Regions from separate parts of the Homo sapiens genome. Here region 2 is linked to region 1. The links are contacts of gene promoters, found by promoter capture Hi-C in blood cells and fetal thymus (Javierre and others, 2016). All regions are on one chromosome and are shown on one strand. Each heading gives the region's core, a stretch centred on a gene start or on the middle of the fragment in contact. The rest is flanking DNA. Distances are from core to core; before and after follow the strand shown.

Region 1 (2,822 bases), core at 174-2,673:
CATCCCATCCGCAGAGTCCAGGTTGATGTTCTTGTTCAGGCCCTGATGCTTCACCTGGCCGAGGATACAGGAAAACACCACATCTTCTGTCATCACCCCAGTGTCCTTAAATCACCCCTAAATTTCATACAAAATCTCACTCATCTCTCTGGCCAAGGATCCAAGTTGTAAAGTAAATAATATGTCTACAGTAGGAACTCTTAATTTGGGCTCTATGACTGGACTTTAGAAAGACCCAATACTGCCTGAAATTGACTACCTATGGATTTTTCTTAGAAGAATGTTCAGATTTTATTGAGTTCTAAAGGTTGAAAACTGATTTAGAAGAATTTTTCCTTCTCACTTCAAACTCTCTCATTAACTGGAATATTTTAATCATATTAAAGTATTTTTAAACATACTTGTAAAAGACACTGGCCACAACTAGGAAAACTTGGAATATAGCCATTGTAGAATTTCTCTAACTTCCCTCTCCCCATTGAGCACTCCCAAAGAGTCTGATTTCTGTCTGGTGAGGCTGTACAAAGATAAATCAGTTCTCAGCCTAAATTCAAAACTCTCCACAGGGGTTGGAGTATTTCCACAGCATATCTCAGGTGGAAATTGATGGGGATCCCCTTACTGTTAGAAGACAAATCTGGAACTCCAGAATTAGCTCAAGAATTTGACACTTCCACAAGTTTCCAATGAATCTTCTAGGAGATCCTTTTGATAGCTTACCTTTCTCTTTAGACACAATCTACTTTTGATGCAGAATACTAAAAGGTGGGTGGCTAATGCTATATAGGAGAAATTGGTAGGATTTACAAATTCCTCCCACGTTCATAGTACTCTTCCTATCCCATAAACCTTTCATTTACATAGCTAAAAAATTCAGAACAATGGCTATGAAGAACCCAGAGGGCCCATGGCTAATCTGTTCTAGTAGTATTCAGAATATATGCCAATAAATTTGGAATAGCCTCCAAGACATATAAACCAATCCTTTCTAGAACTCCATATATATTTTCTCATTCAAGTAACTTCATCTCCTAAACAGCCCAGAGGAAGAAAATAAAGTCACATGGGTTTCCTCAAGGGAAGGGCCCATGTCAAATAACCTATATGAATGACTATATGATTAGAGCTTTCACAATTGGTAATGGAGCTGATGCGTGATGGTAAGTTGCTGGATCAAAAAAGATGAAGGGAAAACAGATAACAGCAAAATAGGCAACTTACATAGGATTCCGTAAGAGCAGTCAGGTCTGAACGAATCTTCCTTGCTAGCCAGATAGAGCGGCTACAGAGGTCCCGACGGTGAGGGGTCAGCGGTGAATGCTCTGTGAAAGCCATCCCTTAACTCAACTGTCCCAGGAAACAAGTCAGCTGGGTTTACTTCTGTCTATACTGGTCCAAATAAGAGATGTGACTCTCAAAGACTAAACCCACTGGGCATTCTCTACTAATGGGATTGTGCACCCCACCCCCACGCCCTGCCTGACTCAGAGGAGGTAGCAAATTCCTGGCTGTGGATTTTTGTGCCTGTGGAATCAAAGGGCCCTTTTTAATCAGATTTTTTTTCCCCTGCAGCGTCTGCCTCCATCTCTCTCCTCCACTCAGTACTTAGCACACTTGTTTCTATGTCATTGTTTTGCTTTTGCACTTAGCAACAAGGTCACTATCATACCAATCCTCATGGCACCCCTGCCTAATGTAATCTATCTCACACACTTAGAATTAGTTCATTTTATTATCATTCTCCCTTATGCTTCCCATGTCTTTTTTCTCATAGGCTGGCGAAATGTTCATTCAATAAAATTGTTATTGACACAGCTGCCATTTATTAAGTATCTACCATGGGTCAGTCAGTAAGCTAAATACTTTAAAGCAATTCCATTTGATCTTCAGAATATTTCTGAGGTAAATGTTATTTCTCCATATAAGAAACTGAAACTTCAAGAAATAACATGCACAAAATCAAGTAACGAGGCTTGAATTTAAATAGAAGTCTGATTCTATAGTTGTCTCTCCCACTGACTTTCCAATTTCATTTTCTGTTTAGGTAGTTCACATCTTGTTCAAGAAACAAAGGGTGTGTGAAGTCCTTTAAAAACAGGATTTTTTTCACTCCTAACCTTACGTACTTTTTAAAGGTAATTTAATTTATACTTAAAAATCAAGCAAGGAAGCATCTCTAATTTCAATCACGGTGCCTTCCTGGTAGCTACATAGGAGGAGGAAGGTACTGTTTAGGCCTGTTCTCTTCCAAAGAACAGGAAACACCCAACGCTAACTTGGTAACATTTCTAAAGCAGTCTCACTCAAGTGACAACATGCTTTCCTTTTTTCTCCCCTACCCAGTCATACCACATGCTTCTTAAAATAAGAGAATGAGCTGGGCTTTGAAATGACAGTATAAAAGTTAAAAGGTACTTGGAGGGTTGTCATTCTATTGCATTTAACTTAGAAAATGATGCTTATTGGGTAAGGGCTAAATGAAATAATTAGCTTTCATTATTTATATCATAGATATTGCCAATAAGCTGAAACACATACCATCTTAGAAGCAAATTTATAAAAGTAAACAATAAATGGGAGATGTAACAGAGCAGCCTGGGCAGCTATCACAGCATGGCTTTTGGAAGGCAGAAGGATTATAGTTTTTTCTTTTTTAAAATAAAAATCAGTACTTGATATAAACATTCAATTTTGAGAAGAAGTATTAATATTAAATGCTATCAAGGTTTTGTCATTATCAGGGTAAAATTAACCTCACATAATCCTTAATTTTCCATCTACTAGGTTAATTAACATATGGCCAGTTTTCCTAGGAGGCAGTT
Region 2 (2,822 bases), core at 105-2,604, 1.1 Mb after region 1:
TAAGGCTAAATAATACTCCATTGTGTGTATATGCCACGTTTTGTTGATTGATCCATTGATAGACACTTGGTTTGCTTTCACCTTTTGGCTGCTAGAAACATTGGTATACAAATACCTGTTTGCTTTCAGTTCTTTGGGTGTCTACCCAGAAGTAGAACTGCTGGATCATATGGTAATTCTGTGTCTAATCTTTTGAGAAATGGCCATACTGTTTTCCATCACAGCTGCACCATTTTATTTTCCTAAGCTCCTGAGTTCTTAGGATTTCCTCATTTTCTCCATTTCCTCACCCCCATTCTAATGTTTTAAGAAAGGATGTTCCATCCTTTTCTTCCATAATCTCAGAAAGTCTTGAAAGCTGAGATGGTCCTTAGAGCTCATCTAGTCCATCTTTATCCACTTTTCAAATGAGGAAACTGAGGCCTAGAGGTGGGAAGTGGCTCACCCGTGGTCACACAGCAAAAGCCAGGATCAGACTTCTCTGCCTCCCAGGCCAGTGCCCTTTGGTGATTTCACATTTTCACTAATCCATGACTCAATTGTCAAATGAATGCAGGTGCTGTGTGTGTCCTGGCTCATGATTCCTCCTGGGAGTGAAGCAGAGGATGCCTAGGACCCTCGGATTGGGGCAGGAAGGGAGGAAAACCAGACTGGAGCTTGACCCCTTTTCTCTCTGCACAGGACCAACCTCCCTACCACCTGAAAGCCTTCAACCTGCGCATCAGCTTCCCGCCGGAGTATCCGTTCAAGCCTCCCATGATCAAATTCACAACCAAGATCTACCACCCCAACGTGGACGAGAACGGACAGATTTGCCTGCCCATCATCAGCAGTGAGAACTGGAAGCCTTGCACCAAGACTTGCCAAGGTGGGGTTGGGCTTTGCTTGGAGGAGGGACTGATACTGGGTAGAGATTACTGGAGAGGGGGTTCACAGCTTATTCTGAGCTTGAAAAGCCCCAAAGAGAGGAGATAAAAATTGTGAGTCTTGGCTGAACTTACTATGAGATAGAAGGGATGCTTCCTGGACAGACTGACCTCCTCCTGCCTCTCTTCTTATACCTGTGCAGTTGTGACAGAGGAACGTTGCTGCGGTTCATGGGAGAGGCAGCTTGGCTGCACAGGGAAGGGCTCGGGAAAAGAAAGCCCGCTGTTCCCTCTGTGGACTTTGGGCAAGTTTTCGTTCCTTTCTGGGACTCGGTGTCCTAAATGACAGTGGAGGGAACTGGCCTCATAATGATAATACCTGTCACTTGACTGAGCACTTTCGGCACTGTGCTAAAAACATCACCTGCCGACTTCATTTTTATTTCCCCAACAAGCCCGTGAGGTAGTGTTGTTTAGTAGACCCGGACATCTGAGGCATGTGAGAGGTGAAGTGGTTGCCTAAGGTCATACAGATGACAAACGGCAGCACTTGGCTGACTCGCAAGCCACATGTGGCTGTTGCAACTGAAGAACTCAATTCTTTTTCTTTTTTAAGACAGAGTCTCGCTCTGTCGCCTAGGCTGGAGTGCAGTGGCGCGATCTTGGCTCACTGCAACCTCCACCTCCCAGGTTCAAGCGATTCTCCGGCCTCAGCTTCTTGAATAGCTGGAATTACAGGCGTATGACACCACACCCAGCTATTTTGTATTTTTAATAGAGAGGGGTTTTGCCATGTTAGCCAGGCTGGTCTCGAACTCCTGACCTCAGGCGATCCGCCTGCCTCCGCCTCCCAGAGTGCTGGGATTACAGGTGTGAGTCACTGCGCCTGGCCAGAACTCAATTCTTAATTGTACTTAATTTTAATCCTTTTTGTTTTTTCTACTGAGACACGGTCTGTCTCTATTGCCCAGGCAGTTAGTTCAGTGGCGCAATCTTGGCTCACTGCAACCTCCACCTCCTGGGCTCAAGCCATCCTCCCACCTCAGCCTCCCGAGTAACTGGGACTACAGGAGCATGCCACTATACCTGGCTAATTTTTGCATGCTTTGTAGATACCAGGTTTTGCCATATTGCCCAGGCTGGTCTCAAACTCGTGAGTTCAAGCCATCCACCCATCTTGGCCTCCCAAAGTGGTGGGATTACAGGCGTGAGCCACCGTGCCCAGCCTGATTTTAATTCATTTAAATTTAGATGCCTGCATGTGGCTAATGGCTACCATATTGAACAACACAGCTCTAGAGCCTGTGGCTGAATCAGTGTGCAATCCTCCACCTGGACCAGCTCAGGAGTTTTTAACTCAGGAAATGAAAGTCCTTAGGTTGGTGGGAGTGGGAGCAGGGAGAGGAGTGGTCCTTGGATGAGCTTCAGGGGGTCTGGGAACTGTCTGTTTTGCATGTGGATGTGCACATCTGTCTCGGGAGATGGGCTGCTGCCTTCACTAGGTTCCCAAAGGCATCTGTGAAAGATGAAGAGCCAGGGGGCAGTGGTGGTTTTCAGTCTTTAGCCTTAGACCTCTTTTGCCCAAGGAAAAGTTTATTTGGACTACCAATATAATGGAGGAAAACAGAGCAGTTTTTGTTGAAATGGGGATAAGACCCAGAAACCTCACTTATCTCAGTGGCCCCTGTGATGAGGAGCTTCTCTGAAGCCATGGAATGTAGTTGTTTGAAAACCACTGATGTAATCAGTCAAGGCCTTGGGTGTCACCAGCCAAGAATGAGCGGGGCGTTTGATCTGGTCGTAGAGTAATCCTAAGCGATGTAACCTTTCCCCCAAGGAGTGAGTGTGGAGTGTCAGGACATTGGGAACGGGCAGCCATGACTCCCTTCCCTCTGCCCTGATATCCTGATCTGGCCTGTCTCTCCCCAGTCCTGGAGGCCCTCAATGTGCTGGTGA

Evidence for each region. The method cuts DNA at HindIII sites, captures the fragments that hold promoters and counts their contacts. A CHiCAGO score of 5 or more calls a contact.
Region 2: a fragment that was not itself captured here is called in contact with the fragment with the promoter of CNTF in region 1 in 1 of 17 cell types (naive CD8 T cells); the score reaches 5.3 in naive CD8 T cells.

Annotation. Positions count from the first base shown.
Region 1 is chr11:58,621,266-58,624,087 of GRCh38, reverse strand. CNTF (ciliary neurotrophic factor) reads right to left here and starts at 1,423. Exons shown (of 2, transcript NM_000614.4): 1 at 1,222-1,423; 2 at 1-54. The coding sequence starts at 1,335. It overlaps ZFP91 (ZFP91 zinc finger protein, atypical E3 ubiquitin ligase), which reads right to left. Exons shown (of 11, transcript NM_053023.5): 11 at 2,538-2,822. It overlaps ZFP91-CNTF (ZFP91-CNTF readthrough (NMD candidate)), which reads right to left. Exons shown (of 13, transcript NR_024091.1): 12 at 1,222-1,322; 13 at 1-54. The HindIII fragment of the contact is 9,454 bases long and covers 1-2,822 here.
Region 2 is chr11:57,552,483-57,555,304 of GRCh38, reverse strand. UBE2L6 (ubiquitin conjugating enzyme E2 L6) reads left to right here. Exons shown (of 4, transcript NM_004223.5): 3 at 682-868; 4 at 2,796-2,822. Among named protein-coding and RNA genes, the nearest start is that of UBE2L6, 14 kb to the left of the region's middle. The HindIII fragment of the contact is 6,800 bases long and covers 1-2,822 here.